Linked DNA regions of Homo sapiens: region 2 is linked to region 1. The links are contacts of gene promoters, found by promoter capture Hi-C in blood cells and fetal thymus (Javierre and others, 2016). All regions are on one chromosome and are shown on one strand. The core of a region is centred on a gene start or on the middle of the fragment in contact, and the rest is flanking DNA. Distances in the headings are between cores, read along the strand shown. Region 1 holds the start of NOL9 (nucleolar protein 9). Region 2 overlaps ICMT (isoprenylcysteine carboxyl methyltransferase).

Region 1 (6,246 bases), core at 316-2,815:
ATTACAGGCGTGTGCTACCATGCCCAGCTAATTTTTGTATTTTTAGTAGAGATGAGGTTTCACCATGTTGGTCAGGCTGGTCTCAAACTCCTGACCTCAGATGATCTGCCAGCTTCGGCTTCCCAAAGTGCCGGGACTACAGGCCTGAGCCACCGCGCCTGGCCCATACTTTATATTTTTAAACTAAGATCATACCCCATGGCAGCTACAGAGAAAGCATGGTGACCGTGAACTCGGCTCTGTGCTCCTGGTTCAGACAGACTCTACCACTCTGTCCTTTTAAAGACCCACAGCTTGCCAAGTCTCTTCCAGAACTTCCTGGGTTTTGCCTTCCCTCCTGCATTAGACAGGGAATCTCCAGGAATGGCATCCACGTTAAGAATCAGGCTGCCTGAGTTCGACTCCTAGCTCTCCCTCTACTGTGTAAGTTACCCAACCTCAGTCTCCTCGTCTGTAAACACTTAGAGAGAGGGACAACTACTCCGTAAGAGAGCTGGATGTTTAAATGGGTTCAAAGCCTAAAACACTTTTGGAACCCTTAAATCCTGGAATTTCTGAGCTCTCAGTAATTGCAACCTTTTTTTTTTTTAACTATTAAAATCCCTTTCAGAGTTCCAGGTGCGGTGGTTCACACCTGTAATCCCAGCACTTTGAGAGGCCGAGGCGGGTGGATCACAAGGTCAGGAGATCGAGACTATCCTGGCTAACATGGCGAAACCCCGTTTCTACTAAAAATACAAAAAATATAGCCGGGCGAGGTGGCACGCGCCTGTAGTCCCAACTACTCCGGAGGCTGAGGCAGGGGAATCGCTTCAACCCGGGATGCGGAGGTTGCAGTGAGCCGAGATTGTGCCACTGCACTCCAGCCTGGGGGACAGAGTGAGACTCTGTCTCAAAAAGAAAAAGAAAGAAAGAAAACAAAACAAAATAAAGTCCCTTTAGCTCGTAAGGCCTAGGGACCCCTTAGCAGGGTACCTGTTACCCTGCTGCTCAGGGGAGCCTAGTTGCCACCAACCATCAAGAGGATGGACTTGAATCCGACTGGCAGCCAGAGAACAGGCCCGGGGGACCACGGTCCTCTCCTACCCTGCAGCTCTCCCGGGGCTGCCTCTCCAGCCCTCCCTGCCCTCGGGGACTACTACCGGCGCCCCCCACCTACCTGCTCGACCGGCAGCAGCAGCAACGCGCGGCCGGGGCCCACGGGCCGCACCGGTGGGATGAGGAGAGGCCGGTGGCAACTCGAGGCGGATTCGAGTTCGGGTTCGGACTCGGGTTCGGAGGCCGGGGTCGGGCTAGGGATCGGGCTGGGGGTCGCGGTGTTGGGTCTCCGGGCCGCCGCCGCGCGCGACACCTGGCGGGCTCCCTCCCTCCAGTCCACGCCGGACGCCTGGGCTTGCAGTAACCGCCACCGTAGGCGCCGCCGACCGCACCAGCGCAGGCTCCCGAGCCGGCGGCGGGGCCGGCGGCTGAGGATGAGCTGGGGCCGGGCCTTGCGGACCCGCAGCCAAGTGGAACGGCAGGAACCCCGCTTTAGCAGCAGTCCCGAGTCCGCCATGCTGGGTCCTCAGGGCCTACCGCGCGAGAATCTCGCGAGATCCCGTCGGTCCGCCCCGCTGCCCTCCCAGCTGCCGAAAAGAGGGGCCTCCGAGCCGCCGGCGCCCTCTGCCGGCAACCTCCGGAAGCACACTAGGAGGTTCCAGCCGATCTGGTCGAGGGGCTCCACGGAGGACTCCATTTACGTTACGCAAATTCCCTACCCCAGCCGGCCGGAGAGAGAAAGCCAGAAACCTCGCGACCAGCCATGGGCCACCTCTCCGGAAAAACACCGGGATATTTTTTTTCTCCTGCAGAAAAAGCTTTAGGATTGGCAGTTTAAACAAAACATGTCTATTTGCATACCTTCGGTTTGCATGCATTTGTTTCGAAGTGAGCAACCCTGGGTAACAAGGCGAAAGTATATGACAATTTGCTCAGAATCTTAATGTCAGAAAACTGGAGACTGGGGCAGGGGGGTGTCGACTCAAAGCTGTGTCTCATTTAGTAAACTGAGGCCCAGGTAAAAAGTTCTGAAACCTCGCAACACCCGGAGAAATTGTGTTCCAGCCTCCCACCTCGCCCCAAAATGCCAGAGCTCCTTTTCTAAGCCAGGTGAAGTCACAGAGCGTGGACAGAACCCACAACCGTCCAGAGGAAGGGTCACTGGGTGCCACCTGGTTTGCATCTGTGCCTTCGTCCTGCCCAGTTCCTGAGTGGGACCGCAGGCCCGGAATGTCAAGGCAAACAGTCCTGCTTCAGCCACTGGGCTCCAGTCCCACCCCTTTTGGGGGCCTGAAGTTAGGAAGCATCCGGCAGCTGCCTTCTATTTAAGCAACTGGCCTCCTTAGAGGCCACTCCTTGGCCATGCCAGGCGCGGGCATCTGGCCAGCATGCTGCTCTGCACGGCTCGCCTGGTCGGCCTGCAGCTTCTCATTTCCTGCTGCTGGGCCTTTGCCTGCCATAGCACGGAGTCTTCTCCTGACTTCACCCTCCCCGGAGATTACCTCCTGGCAGGCCTGTTCCCTCTCCATTCTGGCTGTCTGCAGGTGAGGCACAGACCCGAGGTGACCCTGTGTGACAGGTGAGTGAGGGGCCAGCAGAGCCACACTTAGTGGGACCCCTGGCTATAGGGCCCCTCTGGCTGCCATCCTCCAAACAGGACCTTGCCTCTGCCTTTGCCCCTTGAACTGTCCCCAGGCCTTGTTCATCAATCCACTTGCCACCTAAGTGCTGGCTAGACCTTCCTAGACACTTCGGCCAGTTTCCAATTATTTCACCCTTGCTGTTAGAATGTGTTGTATTGTAACTTCATTGAAATTGGTTCTTGGCTTTGTACCATACCTAGGTGGCCAGGCCTAAGCAAGGGCAGCTTTTTCCCTCTTCTTTTTTTTTTTTTTTTTTTTTTTGAGACGGAGTCTCGCTCTTTCACCCAGGTGGGACTGCAGTGGCGCGATCTCAGCTCACTGCAAGCTCCGCCTTCCGGGTTCACGCCATTCTCCTGCCTCAGCCTCCCGAGTAGCTGGGACTACAGGCACCCGCCACTGCGCCCAGCTAATGTTTTGTATTTTTAGTAGAGACGGGGTTTCACCGTGTTAGCCAGAATGGTCTCGATCTCCTGACCTCGTGATCTGCCCACCTCGGCCTCCCAAAGTGCTGGGATTACAGGCGTGAGCCACCGCGCCCAGCCGCTTTTTCCCTCTTCTATCTTCTCTCCACTCCTACCCATGTTCAAAGTTCCCTAGAGTCCCAGATGACAAGTAGGATTCTCCATGGTTCTTCATGGGGTGGGAAGGGAAGACACATCCCATTAGATGCTTTAGGAGCTTGACAAATATAAATTAGGTTGGTGCCATCATGAAGTCAACAATCTAGGTAGAGGGAAACTACTGCTTTTCTTTTATTTCTATCTATCTATCTATCTATCTATATTTTTTTGAGATGGAGACTCAGTCTGTCATCCAGGCTGGAGTGCAGTGGCATAATCTTGACTCACTGCAACCTCCTCCTCCTGGGCTCAAGTGATTCTCATGCCTTAGCCTCGGGAGTAGCTGGAATTATAGGCATGTGTCACCATACCCAGCTAATTTTTGTATTTTTCGTAGAGACAGGGGTTTCACCATGTTGGTCAGGCTGGTCTCGAACTCCCGACCTCAGGTGATCCGCCCACCTCGGCCTCCCAAAGTGCTAGGATTATAGGCTTGAGCCACCGCGCCCGGCCTGCTTTTCTTTTAAAGAAGACAGTTGCAGCCGAGCACAGTGGCTCACGCCTGTAATCCCAGCACTTTGGGAGGCTGAGACAGGCGGATCACGAGGTCAGGAGTTCAAGATCAGTCTGGCCAACATAGTGAAACCCTGTCTCTACATAAAATACAACACATTAGCCGGGTGTGGTGGTGTGCACCTGTAATCCCAGCTACTCAGGAGCCTGAGGCAGGAGAATCGCATGAACCCGGAGGTGGAGGTTGCAGTGAGCCAAGATCACACCATTGCATTCCAACCCGGGCGACAGAGCGAGGCTCCATCTCAAAAAAAAAAAAAAAAAAAAAGACGAAGACAGTTGCTTGCAGACTGTGGAAGTCACAGACCCAGAGGCCCAAGAATGCTGCCGAGGCTTGGCTGCAGGATGTCCTACCCATGAAGCACACGAGATGGTTGGCTCAGGAAGAAGTTTCTGGAAATCTAGTGTATGACGACCTACTCGAAGGGCTACAGCTAGAAACCTGGATAAAGAGATAAAGAGAATGGGCTGGGAAGAGAGATTGGGTAGAGCAGGAGGAGGGAAGACATGAAAACCGGCTTCAGATACCTGAAGAATTGTCTCAGGCAGGAGGCACGAACCCTCCGTTGAGAGACTCGGGACAGAAGTGGTAGAAACCATGGAAGACCTTCTAACAAGCAAGAGGCTGGAAAATGGAACAGGCTAGCACACTTTATGTATTTGTTTGTTTATTTGTTTATTTATAGAGATGAGGTCTTGCTCTTTCCCCCAGGCTGGAGTGTAGTGGTGCAATCATAGCTCACTGCAGCCTTACTTGGGCCTCATTGAAGCTCAAGTGATTCTCCTGCCCCAGCCTCCCAAGTAGCTGGGACTACAGGCATGCACCACCACTCCTGGCTAATTTTTTAATTTTTTGTTGAGAAGGTGGTCTCACTGTGTTGCTCAGGCTGGTCTCAAACTCCTGGTCTCAAGTGATTCTCCTGCCTGGGCCTCCCACAGCATTGGGATTCTAGGTGAGCCACTGGGCCAGCCATTACAAAAAAGTTTTTTTGAGCTGGGATCTCACTATGTTGTCCAGGCTAGTCTCCACCTCCTGGGATCAAGCAATCCTCCATCCTCAGCCTCCTGAGTAGCTAGGACTACAGGCATGGGCCACTGCACCTGGCTTAGCCTGCTCTTTAAACGGGGCTGAATCCTGTCCCTGGCTCATTCCTGGTGGGCTCCAGACAGGAGTTGCTGAAGTAGGGGTGATAAGGCATATAGGCCCTCAACACATTCATAAGTGTCCTGGTGAGAAGCACTAATTAAACAAGGTTAAGCAGGTGTAGTGGTTAGTTTTTGTTTTTGTTTTTGTTTTTTTTCTGAGACAGGGTCTTCCTCTTTTGCTCATACTGGAGTCCAGTGGTACAATCATAGCTCACTGCAGCTTTGCTTGGGCCTCAGTGAGGCCCTAGCCTCCTTACTAGCTGGAACTACAGGCATATGCCACCACTTACCGCTAATTTTTTAAATTTTTTATAGAGACAGGGTCTCACTACATTGCCCAAGCTGGTCTCAAATTCTTGAGCTCAAGCAGTCCTCTCACAGTGCTAGGCCTCCCAGAGTGCTAAGATTATAGGTGTGAGCCGTGGTGGTGAATTTTGCGTGTCAGATTGTCTAGGCTATAGTGCCTAGAGTTGTGTAGTCAAACATCAGTCCAGCTGTTGCCATGAAGGTATTTTTAATTTATTTATTTTGGCCGAACGTGGTGGTTCATGCCTGTCATCCCAGCACTTTGGGAGGCCAAGGGAGGCAGATCACTTGAGGTTGGGAGTTCCAGACCAGCCTGGCCAACATGGTGAAACCCCGCCTCTACTAAAAATACAAAAATTAGCCAGGCTTAGTGGCTGGTGCCTGTAATCCTGGCTACTTGGGAGGCTGAGGCACAAGAATCACTTGAACCGGGGTGGCAGAGGTTGCAGTGAGCCGAGATCGTGCACTCCAGCCTGGGTTAGAGTCTCCAGCGAGACTCAGTCTAAAAAAAAATATATATATTTTGAGACAGTCTCCCTCCGTCATCCAGCCTGGAGCCAACTGCTGCGATCTTGGCTCACTGCAACCTCTGCCTCCCAGATTCAGGCGATCCTCCTGCCTCAGCCTCCCAAGTAGCTGGGATCACAGACATGTGCCAGCATGCCCGGCTAATTTTTGTACTTTTTTTTTTTTTTTGAGATGGAGTCTCGCTCTGTCGCCCAGGCTGGAGTGCAGTGGCGCGATCTCGGCTCACTGCAAGCTCCGCCTCCTGGTTTCACATCATTCTCCTGCCTCAGCCTCCGGAATACCTGGGACTACAGGCGCCCGCCACCACGCCCAGCTAATTCTTTGTATTTTTTTAGCAGAGACGGGGTTTCACCATGTTAGCCAGGATGGTCTCAATCTCCTGACCTCGTGATCCACCCGCCTCGGCCTCCCAAAGTGCTGGGATTACAGGCGTGAGCCGCCACGCCCGGCCC
Region 2 (5,528 bases), core at 2,354-4,853, 330 kb before region 1:
GGCCTTCTAACCTTGCCAAACCACTACAAAAGCAAACTAGGGTGGGCAAGCCCAACTACCTAAGGCAGGAAGAAAGTGCAGTGAAGGGACAGTGGTGTGCTGTGCGTATCGTGGGGGTACTCCTAAGCAGCTAGCTGTTGGCGAGATCTTACAAAGCCTGATCGGCTAACGCAGCTTCCTGGTTTAGGAACATTTTCCCCGGTCGTATCAATCCCCCAGGTTGGTAAATGAACAGAAGGGATGAATAAAGCCTACTTTTTAGGCTCAAGGAGCAGCTCGTGAAGGGGTGGCAGGTGCGCTGCTGCCTTGTTTTCTGTCCTGCTAAGAGGCTCACCCCGCGACCTCTTCTGTAAACTGCCACTCAGCAGCGGCCTGCAAGCCCTCACGAAAGGCTTCACTCTATGCTGTTTCCAGGTAGCTTTGTTCTGACAGTACCTATTTTCCACTTCAGAATCTCCACTTTAAAACCTGCAATGGAAAAATAAATCTCTTGACAGTTTTTTAAATCGAGAAAATTGGTGATGTGGCCTTGGCAGCAAATACCCAGAAAGCCTTTACCTCATTAACCTGATTCTCCACGGGCCCTGCCACTGCTAAATTTATAAAGCTAAAAATAATCTCAAGATCATGGAACTAAAAAGAAGTCAATCACTTACCAAATCCTGTCCTTAAGGAGTTCATCTTGGCTGGGCGTGGTGGCTCACGCCTGTAATCCCAGCACTTTGGGAGGCCGAGGCGCGTGGATCACTTGAGGTCAGGAGTTCGAGACCAGCCTGGCCATCATGGTGAAACCCCGTCTCTACTAAAAATACAAAAAAATTAGCTGGGCATGGTGGCCCAAGCCTGTAATCCCAGCTACTCAGGAGGCTGAGGCAGGAGAATCGCTTGAACCCGGGAGGCAGAGGTTGCGGTGAGCCGAAATGGTGCCACTGCACTCCAGCCTCCAGCCTGGGCCACAGAGCAAGACTGTCTTAAGAAAATAAAAAAAATGGAGTTCATCTTTTATCCCTAAGTAATTGCTGACTTCTGCTCTGGGATTATAAACAGGGTGGGAATGTTCTCCCACCATCCCTACCCCTGGAATTCCTCTCCAAAGCAGAGTACGTCAAGTTTTCCCTGGTGTCAGACAGCATTTCACCATGAAACCCTAAGACCTGCCTCCTGGGCTCCTTCCAGCTGGTGGGCCTGGTGTGAAGGTGGGCTTCCTGGGCCTCTGGCAGATGGAGGATGGCATTAAATGCCAACACAGTCAGCTTACCATCCACAAGGCCAGCAGCTGCCAACAGCTGCCCTAGACCTATCAACAAGACAACTTCATGGCTCCCAATGGGAATGGAGGCTGGGCCCGCCCTACTTAGAGCAGGGGAAAGAACTTTTCCCTCAAAGAGCCGGGGCAGGATGCCAGAATCTAACTACATCCTCTCCCGGTTTGCAGTTCTAGGAAGTGGAATTTGCTGCCCTAGGCGTGGTCTAAAGGACAAGTTTAGAAATGATTCAACTCAAGTTCCTAAACAGAGTAAGTGCCAGTTGATGTCCCACCGTGGATCCTTTACTCCAGAAAAATTGTAATGATGGCTCGGCCACCGCCTTGGCTAGAGTCCCACTGCACGCGTGTCGTGAGGGCCGATGGGCAAGTCCGTCCGGTTTTTTTTGTTGTTGTTGTTGTTTTTTGAGATGGAGTCTCGCCCTGTTGCCCAGACTGAAGTGCAAAGGCCCGATCTCAACTCACTGCAACCTCCGCCTCCTGGGTTCAAAGGATTCTCCTGTCTCAGCCTCCTGAGTAGCTGGGATTACAGGCACCCGCCAGCACGCCCAGCTATTTTTTTGTATTTTTAGTAGAGACGGGGTTTTATCATGTTGGCCAGGCTGGTCTCGAACGCCTGACCTCATGATCCACCCGCCTTGGCCTCCCAAATTGCTGGGATTACAGGCGTGAGCCACCGCGCCCGGCCGTCTGTCTGGTTTTCAAACCAATCAATGAACCCGTAAGCCTCTTTGGTATATATAACAATGAAAAAATTCATTAAGCCATGAAATCTAGAAATAAGTCATATTTCTGAGTTGATAAAATGCTTTTCTGAACATACATTTTAGGTATCTGGCACAATTAACCAAATGTCTGCCCATTTTTGTGTAGCTTTCATACAGTACAGATTTCATTGATGTCGCTCCCACATCTGAGTATTAAAAACATTTGACATTGTTCTTCTCAGTCCTCACAACACCCCTGTGAGGTAGGTGGTATTGACCCCATTCCACAGATGGGGAGGTCTAGGCACGGAAAGGTTTAGTGGCTCCTCACAGGCCGCGTGGTGGGGCAGCAGAGTGGTGCTCTGGCCCCGCGCCGACGCCGCCTTCACATTCACACTTCTTCAGTGCCACCGCAACACTGCATGGCAGGATCTCACGCTGAGGCCAAGTTCCTGTCTAGTCCAGAATGAAGCCAGCGTCTCACCTCTTAAAGCTTCGATGTGTGACTCAAAGCCAACTTACTCTCCCAAACTTGCAAAACAAACATACTGACTGAATCTTAGTTGGGACTATTTGCAGTATTTAAGATTATTTTTGAGAGTCAATCTGCTTGGATTTGTAGTTGTATATGCTCAAATCCCTTTGGAAAACAGTTTGAAATGACATGAGGGACAATGTAATTTTGAGAACAGAACACAGAAAACAAGAGTTCTGAGACTGGCATTGAAATTGAGAATATAAGCTATGGTAAAATGAGAATCAAATCCCAAATAAACGGAGAGCAGCACTTCTCAATGTTTAAGGCCACGCACAGGGCAGGCATTCAGTAAGCACTTCTTGGATCAAAAGAAACTGATGCTCCTTTGAGCCGCCTATCACTGACAACAGGAGCTGAGACCCCCGGGAAAGCCAGCCAGGGCCATGATCCCCTTGGCCTGGGGCCACGGTCACACAAAGCCACTCAGCCAAATCGTGTAGAGTTATCTAGGCTTACTTGCTGCAGGATAAAAGTTGAACTAGAACACCAAGCATTGAGCTAGGAATACCCCTTTGAATGTGTACTGCTACTTATAAAAAATAGGTATGTAGCTATGATTAAATAGATGAAGGGCCAAAGCATCCTATGAGGAAGTATTTTTAAAATTGTATAGATGTTCATGCAGTGGGGGACAGAAATAAAGAGGTTAAAGCGGTCTGTGTTTTTCGGTTAAATGAAAGGTTGTAAATGCATTTTTACCGCTGATAAGAAGGGGTACCTGCTACCCCTTTCTGCTGTGGAGTGTTGCTGAGGACAGAGTCCATCTCTCCCAGCGAGTCCTGGTTATCCTTTACTTACACTCTGGCCTCGGGGGCAGTGGCGTGTGGCCTCGGTCCTCCCCAGGTAACTCTGGAGGGCGCTGTGGAATATTGCTGTGATTTGCCCCTTACTCGTCTTTCACCCATGTTCCGCCTTGATTCGGCATAAGGACAGACTGCTCCAGTGGGGCCTTGGGTCCTCAGGCCTTCTGACCGCTTGGTCTTGAGTGACATTCCAGAAGAGTGACTAATGACATAAAACGATTAAGAAAATCCATGTGGCAGCGGCCAACCGGAAACAGTTTTGTCCCAGGCTGCACAGGGTCGGAGGCCCCAAGGTCACCGGGGCCACTGCCCGTCACAGGTCCACCTTGACCCCCTTTATGAAAGGCAGGCCCGTGGGCACCCTCTTCTTATACTCCAGGTACTCCTCTCCAAAAAAGTGAATTAGTGAGATTTCTTCTTCTTCTGTTCGATCGCGGAAGAATCGCCACACTGTCAGGGCATAGCTGACGCCGCAGATGGGGTTACACAGCATCACCTAACAGAGGGAGACACCAGGCTCATCAGGGTGACCGTGGGATGACGCCCTGTGCTTTGGTAGGCGTCTGTCTCTAATACCCAGAGGATTTCTGTGCCCATGCCCTGCTGAGACCGTCAGGGTCTCTGGGAGCAGTACTGTCACCTTAGCCCTGAGCACTCAGTGCTGCAGGCCTTTCTCACGTGCTTTCCTGTTGCTCCTCTTACATGAGAGAGATCTGTAAATCACAAGATCAACCTCTTGGATTTCAACCCTCAGCTTGGGGTGACAGCAATGCCCCCCACCTCCAGGTGTGAGCTCCCCAACATGAGGTCCCATGCACGCTGCCTTCCTGCCCAGGACCCTCCCACCACAAATGCATTCGCTTACACCACAGCTGCCTGGGCCTCTGCCTCCTAAACCCACAGCCTCTGCTTCAGCACGAGATACAGTGCCACAAAACTCAGCTTCCGAAATGCCCCTTCCAGCAGATTACCTCCACGCTCAGAGAGCTCCAGAGACTGAACCCCACCCCCTGAGTCTGGGTTTCCAACCCCAGAAGAGCAGCACTTCGCCCACTTCCCCAGTCTCCTGCCCTCCCCACGCTGTGCCCACTTTGCCTCTTTTTTTTCCCCCGAGACAGATTGTCACTCTGTCACGTGGAGTGCAGTGGCGTGATCATGGCTCACTGCAGCCTTAACTGCTTGGGCTCAAGTGATTCTCCCACCTCAGCCTCCCAAGTAGCTGGGACTAAGGGCACATGCCACCACACCCAGCTAATTTTTGTATTTTTTGTAGAGATGGGGTTTCACAATGTTGCCCAAGCTGGTCTCGAACTCCTGGCCCTTTCTTCCACCTTTAAGAACATCCTGGCCAGGTACGGTGGCTCATGTCTGTTAATTGCAGTACTTTGGGAGGCCAAGGAGGGCAGATCACCTGAGGTCAGGAGCTTGAGACAAGCTTGGCCAACATGGCGAATCCCCGTCTCTACCAAAAATAGAAAAATTAGCTGGGCGTAGTGGTGGGAGCCTGTAATCCCAGCTACTTGGGAGGCTGAGGCAGGAGAATTGCTTGAACCCAGGAGGCAGAGGTTGCAGTGAGCTGAGATCGCCACTGCATACCAGCCTGGGCGACAGAGCGAAACTCCCTCTCAAAAAAAACAAAGAACATCCTTCCCACTGATCTCCAGCCAAACAGTCCTTCAAGGCCAAAAGCATTCCCCAGCTCCTCAGGGAACCACTCACCTACACCTGCCCACTGGTCCCCTGTGGATGTGCATCTTCCCCAACATACATTTTCTGTATGTTTTCTGAATATATATTTTAGGCTCCAATACAGCCACCCGGAGAGCCAGGCTCATGTCCTGACCTCTCACACCTTCTCTTATTGAGCACTTACTATGTTCCCAGCGCCATGCTAAGCCCTTTACAATCATTACCCTGTTCAACTCTCATGGCAAACCTTTGAGGGCACGCTACTATCCCCACTTTGTTTTTTTTAAAATTTTATTATTTTTTAAAGACAGGGTCTCACTATATTGCCCAGGCTGGACTTGAACTCTTGGCCTCAAGCCATCCTCCTGCCTCAGCTTCCAGAGTAGGGGGAACTACAGGCATGTGCCACTATGTCTAGCTGCCCCCACTTTAACATGAGAGGAGAAGGAGGCCAAGCAGTGAATGTCAGAATCAGGACTGGCCCAGTCAGTGACTCCGGGGCCTGTACCCTCACATCTGGCATAGCT

What was found. Contacts are between HindIII fragments. The CHiCAGO score rates a contact against its expected background, and 5 or more counts as called.
Region 2: a contact is called between a fragment that was not itself captured here and the fragment with the promoter of NOL9 in region 1, in 1 of 17 cell types (activated CD4 T cells). The highest score is 5.1, in activated CD4 T cells.

What each region holds. Positions count from the first base shown.
Region 1 is chr1:6,552,948-6,559,193 of GRCh38, forward strand. NOL9 (nucleolar protein 9) reads right to left here and starts at 1,566. Exons shown (of 12, transcript NM_024654.5): 1 at 1,160-1,566. The coding sequence starts at 1,555. It overlaps TAS1R1 (taste 1 receptor member 1), which reads left to right and starts at 2,360. Exons shown (of 6, transcript NM_138697.4): 1 at 2,360-2,617. The coding sequence starts at 2,427. RefSeq lists a silencer at 1,272-1,531. The HindIII fragment of the contact is 17,405 bases long and covers 1-1,854 here.
Region 2 is chr1:6,221,455-6,226,982 of GRCh38, forward strand. It overlaps ICMT (isoprenylcysteine carboxyl methyltransferase), which reads right to left. Exons shown (of 5, transcript NM_012405.4): 5 at 1-3,808. The coding sequence ends at 3,626. Among named protein-coding and RNA genes, the nearest start is that of ICMT, 12 kb to the right of the region's middle. The HindIII fragment of the contact is 2,283 bases long and covers 2,463-4,745 here.